4 separate regions of the Homo sapiens genome follow, and regions 2, 3 and 4 are each linked to region 1. Evidence: promoter capture Hi-C in human tissues and cell types (Jung and others, 2019). All regions are on one chromosome and are shown on one strand. The core of a region is centred on a gene start or on the middle of the fragment in contact, and the rest is flanking DNA. Distances in the headings are between cores, read along the strand shown. Region 1 holds the start of EBPL (EBP like). Region 2 has its middle 47 kb from the start of DLEU7-AS1. Region 3 holds the start of DLEU7-AS1 (DLEU7 antisense RNA 1). Region 4 overlaps RNASEH2B-AS1 (RNASEH2B antisense RNA 1).

Region 1 (4,840 bases), core at 187-2,686:
CTGCAACCGGTTACAGGGAGAAGGTCTGGAAATTATTGCCAGACCAACTCATAATTACAAAGTTTTTCCAGAGCGTATATACCTTCTAAGCTATATGTCTACGTGTAAGAGTGCATTCATCTAAAGACGTAAGTGATTAACAACTTCTAATCCTGAAGACCTTCCTCTGGAGCCTCAGTAAATTTACTTAATCTAAATAGGTCTGGGTGCTGGGATGATTACCCTTATTTTGTCTCTTGCTAAATCATGGAGGCTTGTGGAATTCCTCCAGACTCCCAATAAACTTGTTTTTGGAGGCCTGGGGAGTTTCTTCAGACCCCCAATAAAACTTGTTTAATCCTAAACGGGTCCTGTTAAAAATTCCTTAGTTATCTTGTCATGCTTCAAGGCCCAAGAAAGGCCTAGGCAAAACTCTTGGTGGGCTTTTGTTACATTCCAGACTTTGGTATATGGGCACTGACTCTTTCAGCTTTTAATTTTTTTTTTGTTTTTTGAGACGGAGTCTCGCTCTGTTGCCCAGGCTGGAGTGCAGTGGCGCGATCTCGGCTCACTGCAAGCTCCGCCTCCCGGGTTCACGCCATTCTCCTGCCTCAGCCTCCGGAGTAGCTGGGACTACAGGCGCCCGTCACCACGCCCGGCTAATTTTTTGTATTTTTAGTAGAGACGTGGTTTCGCCGTGTTAGCCAGGATGGTCTCGATTTCCTGACCTCGTGATCCGCCCGCCTTGGCAAAAAGTGCTGGGATTACAGGCGTGAGCCACCGCGCCCGGCCTCAGCTTTTAATATTTAATTTAACCACTCAGTGCTGAAGCAGTTGTGATGGAGGCCTGCGATAGTGAAACCTGGCCTGCCACAGGTTAAACGCATCTATCGCCAAGCCAATAGGACTTACCGCTCCTCTCACCCACCCTTCTACTTTTCTGGATTTTTAAGAAATGGAAAGATTGTCAGAGTAGGCCATAAAGGCTTTAAGCCGGCTGGTGGCTGAAAACTCCCTTGGCCCCCAGCCTCCCTGGTAAGGCTTGCTGCAGCCTAATTAAAACCTTTTGCCCCTAAAATTCTGCCCCGGTCTACTGGCAAAATTTCCACTACCTAGGCTTCACTTTGTGGCTTAAAGTTTGAGCCTTGTTAAAAGCGAAACAACATCAAAAGGTGTGGCCCTATTACCAATCCTTTGGGCTCGGTTTGGGAACAGGTTTGGTCGAGGCGGTTGCGCAAGTTGGTGAGCACGTTCCTTCTACGGAACCTCCATGGGCGGCACCTGGCAAAACCACCGGACTCAGCAGGCTGGCCAGGGTGCGAGGCGGGCACGGAATCCTCGCTCTGGCCCCGACCCGGCCGGGGAGCCCCGTCCCTCCCCGGACCGCCTTGGCCAATCAGCTCCGCTCCTCCTTGGCCATCCGGCTCCGCCCCTTCCCGGCCAGCCCCGCCCCGTCGTTTCTCTCCCTGCTTTCCTCTGCCGCATGGTCCTGGGCCGTTGGCGTCGGAAGCCTGAAGCATGGGCGCTGAGTGGGAGCTGGGGGCCGAGGCTGGCGGTTCGCTGCTGCTGTGCGCCGCGCTGCTGGCGGCGGGCTGCGCCCTGGGCCTGCGCCTGGGCCGCGGGCAGGGGGCGGCGGACCGCGGGGCGCTCATCTGGCTCTGCTACGACGCGCTGGTGCACTTCGCGCTGGTAAGTGCCATCGCCTAGACCCTGCACTCCCCATCCCAGAGAGTGGGAGCGGGGGCGGCAAGGCGGGGTGAGGGGGTCCTGCGGCTTTTTGCAGCGAGCTGGCCGCCCCTCCCCCTGCTGCAGGAAGTCTGTTAGCTGAGAGGCGCCTGGAGGCCGCGGCGGCCGGAGTTCTGATTCCCAGGTCTGTGAACAGAGCGCAGCTTACCTTGTGCTGCCGATTCCTCCACCAAACTTTAAAAAAATTCTGTACGTGCTATGTTAGTTTAGAAGATACCTCAGCTTCCTCGGCTTTGTAACCTGCACGTAACTGTTGAACTGGACATAATTGAGAGTAGAATTGAGGTCATTTTTAAATGCCCCAGAGGGGGCAAGGAGAGATGCTTGCTCCGGAGGCAGCAAGGCTATTGTCGCAAAACCCGAAGCCTTTGCCAAGACAAACGAAACACCCGTGTCTAATGTGTGCCAGGCGCATTACTGAGTTTAAAATTTCAGATCTTTACAGCATCCATAAATTAGTTATTATTGTTCCCCATTTTACAGAGGTGAAGGTAGGCGCTGCAAAATTAGGTGACTTTCCAGTGCCACACAGCTGGCATGATTCTGAGGCAGTCTAGTCTGGCTCCCAAGTTTGCACTCTGTGTATCAGTCGAGGTCTTAGGAAATATGTGTCCTTAGAGATTCAACCCATTTTATAAAATAGCCAGGAAGGTTGTGTTTAAGGCATTTATATTGAAATGCCCCGCCCCCCACCACACACGCGCACGCACACACACACACACACTTTTAAGTTTTTTTTAAACTATGCCCAAGTATCAGTTTGTTTTTTTTTTTTTTTGTAAAGTTGACCTTGTTTAACTCTAGACACACCTGTGGCTAATGTGAAGCCAAAGTCAGTAGTATTGAGAAAGCAAGCCGAGTTTTGGGTAATCATCGAGTTCTGTAAATGTTTACGGGTTGGCTTTGTGCCCATGACTGATGTTGCTGGAATTCTTTTTATTCTGATAATCAACATGTAGAGATAAGGGACAGTGAATGTTTCTCTCAACTCCTTTATTTATAGAATTCTTTTTTTTTTTTTTTGTCTTTTTTTTTGTTGTTGTTCTTGAGACAGAGTCTAACACTGTTGCCCAGGCTGGAGTGTAGTGGCACTATCTCGGCTCACTGCAACCTCCGCCCCTTGGGTTAAAGCTATTCTCCTGCCTCAGCCTCCCGAGTAGCTGGGATTACGGGCGCCCGTCACCACGCCCAGCTAATTTTTGTGTTTTTAGTAGAGATGAGGTTTCACTATGTTGGCCAGACTGGTCTCAAACCCCTAACATCAGATGATCTGCCCACCTTGGCCTCCCAAAGTGCTGGGATGACAGGCGTGAGCCACCGCCACCGCCACCAGCCGAGAATTGATTTTTAAGCTATCACTTGAACACAAGGTTTCCCACAGAACAAGGGAGATAAAGCAGATTGCTAGGCCCGGTTAGAAAAAATGTATAACAAAATGTATAACATAACAAAAATGTTGCTAGGCCCAGTGAGAGAAAACTGTGTAACATATTGGCTGGGTATAACTGTATATAGCATATCAGAATGTATATATATAAAAATGTATAACATATCGGACACAGTGGCTCATGCCTGTAATCCCAGCATTTTGGGAGGCTGAGGCGGGTGGATCACGAGGTCAGGAGTTCAAGACCAGCCTGGCCAACATGGTGAAACCCCGTCTGTACTAAATATACAAAAATTAGCCAGGTGTGGTGACGGTGCCCATAATCTCAGCTACCCGGGTGGCTGAGGCAGGAGAATTGCTTGAACCTGGAAGGTGGAGGTTGTAGTGAGCCATGATCAAGCCACTGCACTCCAGCCTGGGCAACAGAGCAAGACTCTATCTTGGGAAAAAAAAGAAAAATGTTTAACATACCTTAGACAAACAAAAAGCTGTAAAAATACTTAAACTATATGCGTGTGTTCACCACTTGGTTTAAGACTGTTTACTTTTCAAGCTCAGGTTGTTACAGGTAACACGACACACACCTCCTTTTGTGCCATTACCTACCCCAGCTGCAAAGTAGTCCACTGTGTGAATACACCATACCTTAGTTCTCCAAGTCTAAGACCCACATTTTTTCACATATTAGAAGAATCAACTACATCATGTAACTACTGTAGGCCATTTGATTGATATTTTAATGTCTCTAAATTGGGATGTATCTTATATTTGATGAATACGATCACTTAACCAGCCCATATTAGTGGACACATTTTTCTGTCATTACAAACAATGCATCTACCAACGTCTTTGTACATGTGTCTCAGAGATCAGTGGGGAGAGCACTTGAATTAAGCAGTTGAGGCTGCAAGAAAATACATGCCCATGTTGTCTTTGCTTGGGAGTTTATTGCAAGAATACCCAGAAGTGTGGGACAAGCTAAGACTAAGATGTAGAGCTTAGGGGAGAACCAAAATTAAAACTCACTTGTTCACTAGAAGATGAGTTGCCTCTCCTTAACCCGACACTTCTTTTTTTTTTTTTTTTTTTTTGAGACGGAGTCTCGCTCTATTACCCAGACTGGAGTGCAGTGGCGCAATCTCGGCTCGCTGCAAGCTCCGCCTCTCGGGTTCACGCCATTCTCCTGCCTCAGCCTCCTGAGTAGCTGGGACTACAGGCACCCGCCACCACGCCCGGCTAATTTTTTGTATTTTTTGTAGAGACGGGGTTTCACCATATTAGCCAGGATGGTCTCGATCTCCTGACCTCGTGATCTACCTGCCTCGGCCTTCCAAAGTGCTGGGATTACAGGCGTGAGCCACTGCGCCTGGCCACCCCCTGACACTTCTTAAAGAGAGGAGCTCTGTAGGTTTTTTGGCTGCCATCAAATTGAAAGCTATCCTGTTGGACAGTTTCAAGCCAAGCATTCCCAGGGGCAGTTCATTTCCCAGATGTCCAACCAGAGTGCAGTCACCTTGGGCCCCAGCACTGGTCATCAGTTCAGCTCGTTATGACTACAGCAGAGGGCAGGCTGACTTCCCATCAGCCTACCTGGAAGGAGCCATGGCAACATACTAGAAGAAGGAAATGGTGGGGTCACCATTCTGAGGTCGCTGTGGGCAGCCTAGGCACTGGTGCTTCATGGATAAAATTTTATCTCTTCTGCAATCTATGTATAGCATTCAGGCA
Region 2 (4,841 bases), core at 1,463-3,962, 1.1 Mb before region 1:
CATTCTTGCTTCACCCAGGGTCTTGCACTTTTCTTTCTATGTTCATCTTCTTAAAGCATGGTTCATTTTCTTCTTCCATCTGCACAGGCTTGATTTCTGATGCAGGCCCTCATCATGTCTTACTTGAATAACTGCAGAGCAGTCTTCTGATAGGGCTTCCTGTCTTCAGCCAGCTCTCCTGCCCTGCTGTTCACACTAGACTGATTTTCCTAAAATGCAAATGTGATCATAGTTCTCTGCTTAACATTTGTTAGTGGTTCCCAATCTCTTTTAGGACTAGATCCAGCCTCCTTATTACAATGAATGGGATCCTTCATAACTCGAGCCCTCCCCAGCGTCCCCAGGACATCAGTGCCACAGCAGTACCGAGCTGCTGCTTGATCTCACACCCCTCTGCATCTCACACATCATTGTCCCTCTGCGTGCAGTTGGTGATCTCTCCTGCTCTCCTTTAATTAACTGCCAGGCAGCTGCCTTCCCACCTCTCTGGTGTTGTCTCCTTTCCTAAAGACCCAAGCAGACCTAGGGCTACCATTACATATGCACTTGTGGGTCTGCAGGGCACTTTCTCTCCACCAGTTGGAGGCACACTGGTGGGAAGAACTTTATCTTTTCACCTGTGATTCTTTCTCTCCCTGCAACATCCCTTCCTGGATGCAGATCTTTCCTGGATGCAGGGGGACTTTTTGTAATCTTGGGGAGGCGGCTGTTGCTTTTTTTTTTTTTTTTTCTAGCACAATAAAGGGCAGGAGATTAACCTCTTCAGTGTGAGAGTGTGTTTTTGTTGTTTTTTTGTTTTGTTTTGTGGGGTGGCCTGGGGTAGGAAGAGTTCCATTCTTAAACCACCTTGGTGGCATCTTCTCCTTTAATCCCCGCCTTCAAGATGTATACAGCTTCTTTCTTTCTCCTCCATTTAATGTGTTGACACCCATAAAAGTTGTGAAAAGAATGCAAGCTTCCATCAAGTTCAAAGCTATTGGATTTAGATGAAAAAGACATTTGTAGGCCTTGAGAGGCAAAGAAATGCCACCCATAATAGTGAGGCAGCAGCCAGGATAGGTTCCGACCTGGGCTTTACCCTGTTCCGTGAGCACAGCAGGGATATGAGCTGTCTAGATTCTGAGAATGATAAGTCTGTATTTTAATTATAATGCTCCAGGAGTAGGCATTAATTCATGCAGTCAGCATCCTGGCTAAAATCCCTGCTTGTGATAGTCGTAATCCCCAAACATTGCATAGTCAGAAACCCTGGGAAGACACAGAACTAAACATATAAGTCTTTTAGAGAATCAAAACTGTATCACTGATATTTTCTTTTCTTTTTTTTTTTTTTTTTTTTTTGAGACGAGTCTCGCTCTGTCACCCAGGCTGGAGTGCAGTGGTGCGATCTTGGCTCACTGCAACCTCCGCCTCCCGGGCTCAAGCAATTCTCTGCCTCAGCCTCCCGAGTAGCTGGGATTACAGGTGCCCACCACCACGCCTGGCTAATTTTTTTTGTATTTTTAGTAGAGATGGGGTTTCACCATCTTGGCCAGGCAGGTCTTGAACTCCTGACCCTGTGATCCACCCACCTCGGCCTCCCAAAGTGCTGGGATTACAGGCGTGAGCCACCGTGCCCGGCCCAATATTTTCAAGTTAAGAATCTCTACTTATTTGGTATATTTCATTAATGTTTTAAAGAAATTGCCTATTAGAATAACAGGTCAGCTTTAAAATGCCCATTTAAGAGGCATAATTGAATACTTTTTGATTTAGACTTGTGGTTTTAGATAAAACTTTAATGTGTCAAAGAGAATTCAGCCTCACCAGATGCCTCTGGCAGTCAGATTGGGGCCCATGATTCATTTGGGGCAATGAAAACTTGTGGTACTTCCAAGTAGAAGCATCAAGAGCAGGCATGTCTCCTCCATCTCTCCTTTCCTTGTGAAAGCGACCTGGTTGGTGCAGGCATTGGATGGGAGAGGCCATGTGATCCACACTGTATTTGCCTGAAGGAGAAACACACCTGGATCATGTTGTGAGACAGCATGAAAGACTGAATTGTCCACTAGGGATCCCACATGTCCTTGCCCCAACAGCTGGGTTTCCTCTTCCCTCTTTTTTTTGCACATGACATTAGCCCCTAACTGTTCCACTCCACCCCTTTTGATAAAATTCAGATCACTCAAATCATCACTGCTAATTCACTAAAACAATTCGTCCCCCTTCTCAAACTCTTTTGACAAACCACTGCTGCCGATGGCTGAACTTCAGCTGACACCTTCCTGCTAAAGCTCTATAAAACATTCTGCCCTCCTTCCCCAAGTTACAACGCCCCTTTGGATCCTTCTCATGCCTGGTATTTTTGAATAAAAGCTGATATGAATGGTGCTCTGGTTGATTTTTTCTGAGCAAGGACGGGATCCCCAGTGGACAATTCAGTCTTTCATGGTCTCTCACAACACAATCCAGGTGTGTTTCTCCTTCAGGCAAATACAGTGTGGACCACATGGCCTCCCCCATCCAGTGGCTGCACCATCCAAGTCACTTTCACAAGAAAAGGAGAGATGGAGGAGACATGCTGTTCTTGACTGCTTCTACTTGGAAATACCACAAATTTTCATTGCCCCAAATGAATCATAGGCCCCACTCTGACTGCCAGGGGTATCTGATGAGGCTGAATTCTCTTTGACACATTTAAGCCATCAAGATTTCAGGCTTATTTGCTATCATACCATAGCCTAACCTATACTGGCTAATGTATTTACTAAATTTATAAACAATATATGAACATTTTCTTAAATTTAAGATTCATCACATTTAGAAATTTGCTTGATTAAATTTTCAGTAAATACTTACATGCATGGGAAGTTTTACTATTAGAAAATTGGGCCAGGCACAGTGGCTCACGCCTGTAATCCCAACACTTGGGAAGCCACGGCAGAAGGATCACTTGAGGCCAGGAGTTTGAGACCAGCCTGGTCAACATAGCAAGACCCTCATCTCTACAAAAAATACAAAAGTTAGCCAGACCTGGTGGCACATGCCTGTAATCCTAGCGACTTGTGAGGCTGAGGCAGGAGGATTGCTTGAGCCCACGAGTTTGAGGCTGCTGTGAACTATGATCATGCCAGTGAACTCCAGCCTGGGCAACAGAGTGAGACCCTGTCCCTGCCCTCCCATTGCCCCCAGCTCCCACCAAAAAAAAGAATACTGAAGTGCTTAAAAGTACTTATATTTGTAAGTGTAATTGAAAGTATTCAAAGATGTTTAATTAGCTTGCTTTATAAAATGAGACCAAATATTATTCAAGGGATCCTTAACTGTGATTGCTAAAATTTGGCAGAAGTTTTTATTTTACAAGTAAAATAGGATTTATAAGATGAACACAAAAGCCTAAATATGAATTGCATTTTTAAATATAGAGCTTGAATAAATCTAACATTGCTGTCTAAAAACCAGACCAAACCCCTGAATGATCTTTTGTATGCATAAAGTGTATACTCAAGAATACGTAAAAGACCTCATATTTAGCAATTTGCTATGGAACCAGGTAGAGCTGACACTGACTGATGAGCTACATGGGGGGTCACTATCCAAGGAATAGTAGGATCTCAGAAGGGAGGGTCCAAAGGATGGAAGGTGGCTGGCAGAGGGAAGAGAGAATTTGCAGGACTGGGCTCCAGGAGAGAAGTTCTTGCTGTGGAGGGGTGGCCAAAGAGTGTACGTGGAGATCCAGGGTAACTCAGAGAAGTCACAGAAGCCCCCTGAGTTCTTAGCACACTGAGAATCTAAAATAGGTCCAATATTTCCCTCACGGGTCACTTCTTCCACTGGGTCACTTCCTCTGCTGACTCCCTTCCTGGTGTTTTTCCACTGGGAAAGAATGGATCTAAGAGAGTGACACTGGGGGCCACCTGACTAGCTGAATAAGAAGACTACTATCACTACTGTGCCCTTCTGCCCTGATCTATTCATGATAAGGGCTAAATAAGAATAAGCCCTTACATGTGCATAGGACTTTAGAGTGTACAAAGTGCTTCATAAAACTCCCAAAACTTATTCATTTAACTTTCACTATAGACCTCTGAAGTCTTTATTTCTGCCACACATTTAGTTCCATCCCTAGTTTACACACATGGAATCAAAATCTCATAAACTTCTAAATCTGTGGGAGGCCTAAGAGATCATTGGGATCAAGCCATTCTTCCAGTAGATGAAGGAACCAAGACCCATAATAGTTAAGTGATTTTACTGAAGCCATACAGCTAGTATGTTATGTCAGTCAGATATTTTTGTGTTTGTTTCTTTGTTCCTTCCAGATATCTCTAAATGAAGCTGATAGACTAGGCTTAAAATGGAAAATATGTATATGGGGGGAGTGGAAAAGGAGGTTACAAAGATGAGGAATAAATCAACCCCTGTCTAAGGGAATGTGTTTGCAAATTGGATGAACTAGTTTGAAATGAATTTTCAAAGGAATTCCGATTTTCTTGTGGTAGCTAATGATTGAAGAATCTCAGTGACACTAGTTCAAGACATTCTCCATTGAGGATTACACATTAAAATATTTGGAAATGGGGGCTGTGGTAAGCCTAAGATGGGCTCCAATTATCCTTGCTTCCTTCTGCAATCTTCTCCCCTTGAATGTGGGCTGGACATAGTGACTCACTTCCAGTGAATAGAAAACAATAGCTAAGTAAAGGAGTGCCACTCCTGAGATTTAGTCATAAAAAGACTATGGCTTCTTTCTTGAGTATCCTCTTTCTCCTTCTCTCTCATCCCTCACTCTGGAGAAAGCCAGTTGTGTTTATAGTCAGCCCTGTGGAGAGGTTCATGTGACAAGGAACTGAGGGAGGCCT
Region 3 (4,973 bases), core at 2,328-4,827, 1.1 Mb before region 1:
GCTGTCTTATTTCTTGGCACCCTCATCTACTCAACAGCAGCAGAAGAAAAGAAGAAACTTCATAGTTGGAGGATCTTCCTTCTATCTATTTATTCATCCATTCACTCAACACATATCTGTGTCAGATACTGCTCCAGGTACTAGAGACAAGCATGTACAGGACAGATATGGAACTCTGTTCTCACAGTGATTATACAGCGATTATATTCAAGTACATTTCTTCTAGAAACACTTGGTACTTCTTGCAGGGACCCCCAACCTCATATAAGTATATATACTTAAATATGTCTAACAGATCTTGATATATTACATATTTAAGTAAATAATGATAGAAAATGAATATTCTTACATGGATGCCCCAATTTCTTTCAGCTGCCTCAGATACTCACTGGATAGTGATAGCCAATGATATGCCAGACTTGATATTGATTGATAATGTTATGGCCCCACCAGGGAAGGTTAGAAGAATGGAAGCTGCTTATTTCAAATTTGAATGAGCAATCAAACATTCCTGTTCTGATTAATGTTTTTTTGCCTTGATGCACATATAAGAACTGGGACTAGCAGAAAGGGTTTAGCTTAGGACTGTGGAGAAATGCTTTTCTTCATTTCTGATAAAGCTCCATTTGCTGTTTGATCCTGTCTTCTTGATCTCCCAAGTTCCTGATAAGTCTACAAAGCTAAAACACTCACAGTTTGATCATTAGTAGTGTAGATCTTCCTCTCATTCAATGGAAGTCTTCTCTTGGAGGTCAGCAGTAAATGTCTCATTGCCGTGACCCACTGGTCAGTCCTTATGCCTCTTCATCTTTGCACATGCTGATCCCTTTCTCAGAAAGAAAGTCCCTTTAGCCAGGCATCATCTCCTTTGAGAAGCTTTCGCTGACCTCAGACTGGAGAACTCTATTATAGCATTTGACACTCCCCACAAAGGGGAGAACAGTAAGTTGCAGTCTGATGAAGTCATATGATGCCCGGGCTGGCTTATGAGTAAAGAGGTGAGAAGGTCTCCTACTGAAACAGATTTTCCCTCTTTCTTCCCCTTACAATAGCCTTTCAAAGTTCTTGAAATGTCCATTAAGGAATTCCTATACTTTACTTTTGATTTCACAATTTCTCAGTCAAAAGCTCAATATCATTGCATAGGATAATACATTACCTTAAAAAAAAAAACACCAAAAAAACCTCAACACTCAAAGATTAAATTTGTGTTTGGAAAAGGCTTTATAGGCAGTGGTACCTGGAAACTGGTGCTTGAGAGAAGCAGGAGGAGGGAGGGGAGATGTCAAATACCATCTTTTAAAAAATTTGTTTGTTTTTGATGACCATCTTTAAGAGATTTTTAAATGCCATGTATGAATTCAAGAAAGAGAATAAAGCAGGATTCTAAGAAATAATAGAAAGCTTCTTAAGGAAGCCGGTATAGTATCATTTTATATCTCTGATATTTCTGCTCATCTACTAAAGCTCATTAAAACCTATTAATGATTAGGAAATACTTATGTTTTATGAAATGTATAAAAAAATTTAAAGATAACAATCTAAACTCTCTTTAAAAATTAATTTTTATATATATCTTAACACCATTTAACACACTTAATTTTAGTACTTCTTTACTAAAGTTTGCGGAGGCAGACTACTCTTAAAAGTAGGAAAAAAAAAGGCAGAGGAGCAGACCGACTTTTTTTTTTTTTTTTTTTTTTGAGAGGGAGTCTAGCTCTGTCACCCAGGCTAGAGTGCAGTGAGTCTAGCTCTGTCACCCAGGCTGGAGTGCAATGGTGCGATCTCTGCTCATTGCAACCTCCACTTCCCAGGCTCAAGCAATTCTCCTGCCTCAGCCTCCCGAGTAGCTGGGATTACAGACTTCTGAAATTCTGAATAGTATAAATACAACTGGAATTACACTTTATTTTTAAATATACATTTCTAGGTAAAAACATAATTAAAGATCAAATAATTTTGGTTAAATTTTAAAATAAGCCCAATATGTAACTAAATAAGTCTTAGCAGAAAAATGTGAGGATAAAGTTGAGATTGCTCCTATTTTTTAATATTTATAGCATTTATTTATTTGTAATTACTTGTGAAGTTTCAAGTATTAAATATTACTCCGAGCTGTCTAATATGAGTCAGAATTTAGGGCAATAGAAAATATAAAACAAATTTTTCCTTACTAATACATGTTTTTTAAAAAGTTGTGTTTATGTTCTTCATTGAGAACTAAATAATCACTAAAAGAATTGCAGAAGTCATAAAATCATTAAATTAAGGAGAGAAAATCTCTATATATTCAGGATAAAGACATTTAGTATGCTAAGATCTCTATCCAATGGTCAAAAAACAACCAACCAAAGATGAAAATAAAAAATAATTTCTTGGAATATTATCTGAGGACTTCCAATTTTAACATGCAGAGCTAAGTGAGTATTTTCTTATTCATATCTCAGAAAAACCAACCAAAACATCAAGGGAATCAAGAAAAACAGTAATGCAAAGCTTATCCTTTGTAAAACTAGGAAACAACAGAGATTTTTAAATGAGAGAGAGAGAAGACTTAGTGGCATAGGACATAGGAAGTACCAGAGTGAAGATGCCTGTGGATTCTGAGCTTCAAGAAAGTCATAAAAGCACAATTCTAAGTGATACATACTGAAATGTAAATGGAGGTTTTTACAATAGAGGGCAGCAAACCACTTCTTATACAACCAAATAGTAAATATTTTAGAATTTCTGGGCCATATGGTCTCTGCCATAACTATCAAATTCTGCCACTGTAGTGCTGAAGCAACCATGTACAATAAACAAATGGGCATATCTATATTCCAATAAAACTTTACTTCCCAAAAAAGAAAGCTAGCCAATGGGCTATAGTTTGCTGATATTTGTTCTCTAGCAATAAGGGTGTGTCAGCTTGACTGAGTGCTTCCCTGGGCCTCAAAGTGGTGAGGTTTCTAGAAAAAGGAAAGGCGATAAAGCTGAATGAGAAGTGGTAGGAAACTGCACAAAGAAGACAGGGCATTGCTGAAAGCATAGCTAGACATGTGGAAGACGGAATTAGAAAAAAATGAGTAAAAAGAATAAATAAAAAAGATATTTAAAAGGGTTATATGATAGATGCAAAATATATAAAAAAATCAAACATATGCATAATTGGTGTTCTTGAAGAAGAAAATCAAAATAATAAAACAATAACTGTTAGGATTATTACACAAAAATTATGAATATAAAGCATTATTAAACAAAATCCAATTACACATTAAAAAACTAACACACCATGAGCAATTATATTTATTCTAGAATGCAAGGATGGTTCAATATTAGGAAATCTATTAATATATTTCTACCACACTAATAGATTAAAAATCATGTTTCTAGATGCTGAGAGACATTTGATAAACTCCAACATCCATTCTTACTAAACAAGCAAATAAACAACAAAACAAAACTGTCAATAAATGGCAATAGATACTTCCTTAACCTAGTGCAATATACTAATCTCAATCTAAAAGCTAGTGCTATAATCTATAAGGAAACTCAGAAATATTTATATTAATGTCAGGAACAAGACAAGAATGTCTACTACCACAACTATTCATAGACGTTGATCTAGACATCCTAAGCAATGCAGTTTTACAAGAGAGAAAGAAAATGTATACAAATTAGAAAAGAAAAAGACAAATAATAATTGCTTGTAGATTATAAAAGTAAAAATTTTATTATATAAAAAGTGAGCCAACTGAAAAAAAATATTAGAACAATAGTGGAATTCAGTTAGGTCTTTGGTTATAAAGTAAATATATACAATCATCATCCTTCCTATATTAAAATAAAAAAGGCATAATAGAAGAAAATACTTCATTTTTGATAGCAATATCACTAGAAAATATTTAGAATAAATTTGTCAGATGTGAAAACCTATGTAAAATCTTTAACTGGCTGGACGTGGTGGCTCCTACCTGCAATCCCAGCACTTTGAGAGGCCTAGGCTGGCGGATCACCTGAGGTCAGGAGTTCGAGACCAGCCTGACCAACATGGTGAAATCCCATCTCTAATAAAAATTTTTAAAAAATAGCTGGGTGTGGTGGTGCATGCCTGTGGTTGCAGCTACTCAGGAGGCTGAGGCAGGAGAATCACTTGAACCCAGGAGGCAGAGATTGCAGTGAGCTGAGATCATGCCACTGCACTCCACACTCCAGCCTGGGTGACAGAGTGAGACTCTGTCTCAAAAACAAAAACAACAACAACAGAAAAAAAAAAAACCCCATAAAACGAACAACATTACACTGTCTCTTGTGGACACAAAAGAACACTTGAACAGATATAAAAGTATATTATATTCTTGGTGAGGGAAACTCAGTATCAGACAGTTTTCAATTCTCTCTAAAAAAATATAAACATTTAATACAGGTCCTATAAGAATATCAATAAAATTTGGGAGTCTATATATGATTCTAAAGTTCATATAAAGGAAAAAAACAAGCAGGAATAACCAGGAAAATTCAGGGGAAAAAATAGAAAATACATGGTACTAGCCCTACCTGACATTAAAATATTTAGGACGTGATGACATTTCAATTAGTGGGAAAAGGGTGAAATTAATAAATGTTGTTCATTCTAGCCCTCTAAAAAATTAATATTGGATTCTAACCTCAGACCTTACATCAAAATGATTTCCTGATGAATCAAAGATTTCCACGTTAATAAAAATATAAAAATACTAGGACCCACCATGGAAAAGTTTTAAAAGTATTGTAGTAAGGAAGATCTCTTTAAGTCCATTACAAATCTCAGAAGTCATAACAAAAAACTGATGAATCTGACAATATAAAAATAAACTGGGCAAAAAATTTGCAGCTCACATAGTAGACTAGCACTGTCAATGGAAATACAATGTAAGCTACACGTGTAATTCTAAATTTTCTAGTAGTTAGTGTAAAAAGTAAAAAGAAGTCTGTTTTTTAAAGAAATGCAT
Region 4 (4,434 bases), core at 1,535-4,034, 1.2 Mb before region 1:
ACCACTTCACTTGTACTCTAGTTATTTCTATCCATCAATCAGTAAGCTTGTAGAGGAGCTTTCAACTTCCATATGTGCAAGATGCTCTGTAGAATGCATGTAAGAAAGAAAAACATCATTGCTTATTCTTTAACAGCTTACAATCAAATTTGAAAAAATCCACACATGAAATATTAAAAAAAAACCATAACACAACAATCGGTAGCACAGTTGTGAAAGCAAGAAAAGGTAAGGACAATCAGTATGGGCTGGACTCATCATGAATGAGAAGGCATTTATAAAGAGCCCCATAGGATGAATGGAACTTGAACTGTCATGGAAGAGTTGGTTGAGAGGGCATTTCAGGTATAGGGTAAACATAGGCTGAAACCTGAGGGAGGAATACTCCCGAATACCATAGCATGTTGTTAAATGGAAGTTTCTGGCTATAGTGCAGATGTTTCAGAGAATACAGGAGGTGATGAAGTGAAATAGCTGAATAATTGGTGGTCACGGATTGCTTTTTATTTATTTATTTTTAAATTTTTAATTTTCGTGGGTACATAAGTGTATATATTTATGGGGTATTTTGATACAGGCATGCAATGTGTAATAATCACATCAAAGTAAATGGAGTATCTATCACCTCAAGCATTTATCCTTTGTGCTACAAACAATCCAATCATCCTCTTTCAGTTGTTTTTAAATGTACAATAAAATCATTATTGACTATAGTCATGCTGTTGTGCTGTCAAAATACTAGGTTTTATTCATTCTTTCCAACCATTTTTTTTGTACCCATTAACCATCACCACTCCCTGCCACCTCCACCACTACTCTTCACAGCCTCTAGTAGCCATCCTTCTACTCTCTATCTCCATGAGTTCAATGATTTTAATTTTTAGCTCCCACAAATAAGTGAGAACATGCAAAGTTGGTCTTTCTGTGTCTGGCTTATTTCACTTAACATAATGACCTCTGGTTCCATCCATGTTGTTGCAAATGACAGGATCTCATTCTTTTTTATGGTTGAATAATGCTCCATTGTGTGCATGTACCACGTTTTCTTTATCTATTCATCTGTCTATGGACACTTAGGTTGCTTCCAAATCCTGGCTATTGTGAATTGTGTTGCAATAAATATGGGAGTGCAGATATCTCTTTGATATACTGGTTTCCTTTCTTTTGGGTCTATACTCAGCAGTGAGATTGCTGGATCATATGGCAGCTTTATTTACAGCTTTTTTTAGGAACCTCCAAGCTGTTCTCCACAGTGGTTGTACTAATTTACATTCCCACCAACAGTGTGTAAGTGTTCTCTTTTCTGCACATCCTCGCCAGCATTTGTTATTGCCTGTGTTTTGGATAAAAGCCACTTTAACTGGGGTGAAATGATATTTCATTGTAGTTTTGATTTGCATGTCTCTAATGATCATGATGTTGAGCACCTTTTCATACACCTGTTTGCCATTTGCATGTCTTCTTTGGAGAAATGTCTATTCAGATCTTTTGTCTATTTTTAAATTGGGTTATTAGATTTTTTTCCTGTAAAGTTGTTTGAGCGCCTTACATTTCCTGGTTATGAATTCCTTGTCAGTTGGGTAGTTTGCAAATATTTCTGTGGGTTTTCTCTTCATTCTGTTGATTGTTTTCTTTGCTGTGCAGAAGCTTTTTAACTTGATGTGATCTACAAAATGCTTTAAAAATCAGCCAGAGATTTCTAAATTTGAGGATGGAGAAAAGAAACAAGTGTCTGTTCTTAAGTAGGTCAAGGATATATTGAAAATGACATTTCAAAGACTTCTTTAGCAGCAACGTTCATAATTAAGCATTTAATATGGATTCTTTATAAAATAAAAGTTCATCTTGCTATTTGTGCTTTTTTATATTAAAATATAGGGTGTTTTGTTAACTGATTACTTGATTATTTTAGAACATGCTTAAGAAGCCTAAGTATAATCAGATAACCTCAACATCAGTAGGACAACTGATGCTGAACCTTAACTTGGAGCTTTAAACTCTTTTCCAAATGGTTTGTCCTTTAGATTTTCACTGCATCTAAGCACTGTGAGCTAGTTATTTCTCAGAAAACACCAATAACAGTAATAACAGCTAATATGGCAAAAATGAAAAATTCAGACGACTTAACTATACAGTGTTTATATAATGTTCATGTGCCATTGAGAAGGGGTGCTGGAAATGAGTTTTCAGCCTCAGTGTACCAGGACAGCAGGTCGAGCACAGAACTGAAGCCTTGGGCTCTGTCCTATCTCTAGGTCTAGTCTATTGCTTTCTTAGTCAAGTCATTTCCCCATTGTAGGTTTACCTAAAAAGAGGGGATTAAGCTGAATAAACTAAAAGAAAAAAAAAAAAACACAACATTTTTTCAGCTCAAACTTTATAAAACTACATTTGTTCATGTTTTGGGAGTTCCAGCATGAGCCTAGCTTGACATCGTAGGGTATAACAGGGCCTATTTTTCAGGTGGGTAGGAAAAGTCTAGTTGCATAATGATAGAATTATCTTGGGAGAATAACCCACTAAAAGAAGCTCACACCCTTGGGTCAACCACAGTGCTCTAGCACTGGAAAAAGAGGACAACATTGAGTTATATTGTTTACTACTTAGAGCTTCTTCTGGCCCAGTCCCTGGGATTAGTAGTTAAATTCTAGGAAAATTTCAGAGACATTGGAGTACAAATTACTCATAAGACCACTTAAATTAATTAAGTAGTTTCACCTACGAGGAATCAAAATACCTGACTCAAGCTTGTGTATGCAATAAGAACATTTATCTACATAACTGGATTTCAAAGGTAGGGCAGCATTAGTTTCATCCTAAGACTGGTTCTCCTTGTGCTCGCAATATGGCTGCCAGTGGCCATGGGGGATATATACTTCCTGGTATACAATGTAACATGAAATATGAGTCCTTGTTTTTATTCTGCTTATTTCATCTCGGATTATGGTGCCCATCCCTGTACTAATCTCAGGGGATGGAAGACTGCCATTGGCTTCACCTAATTAGGTTCTATCACCAGTGATCCAGATATGGTCAGTTTCCTCTGAGGTATTTGGAAAATAGGTAGTTTTCTGAAAATTACTTTGGTTCTCTAAAGTACTAATGAATATTTTGCAGAAAATGAACACCTTCCATGACTCTCACCCACTGGTGTCTGGGCTGGTGGGACAAGAGAGCATCTGCTGTTTGATGAAATAAATTTATGTTGAGGTTATCAGAGCAGGAGGTTGTTGACAAGCACGGGTGTCTATAATGGTCTTGTAAGAGCTGAAAGTGTTACTGGCGGTGAATCTGTATAGGTCTGCAGCAACAATTCTTACCTTCTCAGAAGAAAGAATTTGGCTCAGGGGCATAAGGCAGAGTGAGAGACTGAGGCAAGTTTTAGAGCAGTGGTGAAAGTGTATTAAAAAGCTTTAGAGCAGGAATGAAAGGGAGTAAAGTACACTTGGAAGAGGGCCAAGCAAGCAACTTGGGAGATCAAGTACACAGTTTGACCTTTTGACTTTGAGTTTTATATGCTGACATACTTACAGGGTCTTGGGTCCCCTCTCCCCTGATTCTTCCCTTGGGGTGGGCTGACCACTTGTGTGCTAGTGCTTGGGAGGGGCCGCATGCGCAGTGTGTTTACTGGAGTTGTACACATGCTTACTTGAAGCACTCTTCTCTTACCAGTTGATTGCTCCTAGAAGGTCATATACCAGTCAAACTCTGCCATTTTGCCTCTTAGTGTGCATGCTTGAACCCACTGGCCCAACTCCTGAGATCTTATCCGGAAGCTGCTGATCACCAGTTTCAGGTGTTTTCTATCTATTGGGAGGCTGCCTTTCCCTGGCATCTGGGTTTCTCATTCACTGCTATTGACTTGGGCCGAAATTACATGTTCCATGCAGCTGGAAGGAAGTTGCCTAAGAAAAGCTATCAAACACTTGTGAGGATTGGAGACTACAGCAAATCCACAAGTGATGAACCTGCTGGCTAGTTCAAGAAAATTCAAGAAATATATTTGGACAGACCTCTAGAGATTTGGCTAAAATAAAGAAGAGCAGACACTTAAAAAAGTATTTTTTCTTTGATTTGTGGTATAATTTTAAATCATGAATCTAACCCATTTCTTGATAGGTGGGTTTGAACTACAGAAATTCTAGTTCAACTTTTACCTCTTCTGAAGGCATCATTTTAATGTTAATGCATGTTGATATATGTCTCCTTTCTTTAGCAATAGGACTTCCTTGAGCTGATTAGAGTAGCTGTGCCATCTGCAAAAACTCTACCTTAATGCATCTACTTTAAAACCTTGAAAACCTTAATGCATCTACTTTGCATGTAAACAGGGAGCATGGCTGTGGCCTAACTGAATTTCAATGCCTGTAAGTGTGGTTTCCTGAAAAAGAAAATGAAACCCTGTCTCCATGTCTTCACAGCATGCATACTTTT

The links. Contacts are between HindIII fragments. The study calls those that stand out against the background at their distance.
Region 2: a fragment that was not itself captured here is called in contact with the fragment with the promoter of EBPL in region 1 in 1 of the 25 tissues and cell types used here (hippocampus).
Region 3: a contact is called between a fragment that was not itself captured here and the fragment with the promoter of EBPL in region 1, in 1 of the 25 tissues and cell types used here (mesenchymal stem cells).
Region 4: a contact is called between a fragment that was not itself captured here and the fragment with the promoter of EBPL in region 1, in 2 of the 25 tissues and cell types used here (dorsolateral prefrontal cortex and mesenchymal stem cells).

The regions. Positions count from the first base shown.
Region 1 is chr13:49,688,082-49,692,921 of GRCh38, reverse strand. It overlaps EBPL (EBP like), which reads left to right and starts at 1,436. Exons shown (of 4, transcript NM_032565.5): 1 at 1,436-1,668. The coding sequence starts at 1,498. RefSeq lists silencers at 1,311-1,510, 1,541-1,680 and an enhancer at 1,144-2,141. The HindIII fragment of the contact is 15,697 bases long and covers 1-4,840 here.
Region 2 is chr13:50,758,690-50,763,530 of GRCh38, reverse strand. It overlaps a transcript of DLEU7 not described here. Among named protein-coding and RNA genes, the nearest start is that of DLEU7-AS1, 47 kb to the left of the region's middle. The HindIII fragment of the contact is 6,650 bases long and covers 1-4,841 here.
Region 3 is chr13:50,803,707-50,808,679 of GRCh38, reverse strand. It overlaps DLEU7-AS1 (DLEU7 antisense RNA 1), which reads right to left and starts at 825. Exons shown (of 5, transcript NR_046551.1): 1 at 694-825; 2 at 1-140. It also overlaps a transcript of DLEU7 not described here. The HindIII fragment of the contact is 3,253 bases long and covers 1,951-4,973 here.
Region 4 is chr13:50,893,679-50,898,112 of GRCh38, reverse strand. All of the region lies in intron 1 of RNASEH2B-AS1 (RNASEH2B antisense RNA 1), which reads left to right. Among named protein-coding and RNA genes, the nearest start is that of RNASEH2B, 14 kb to the left of the region's middle. RefSeq lists enhancers at 4,378-4,434, 3,998-4,434. The HindIII fragment of the contact is 3,873 bases long and covers 848-4,434 here.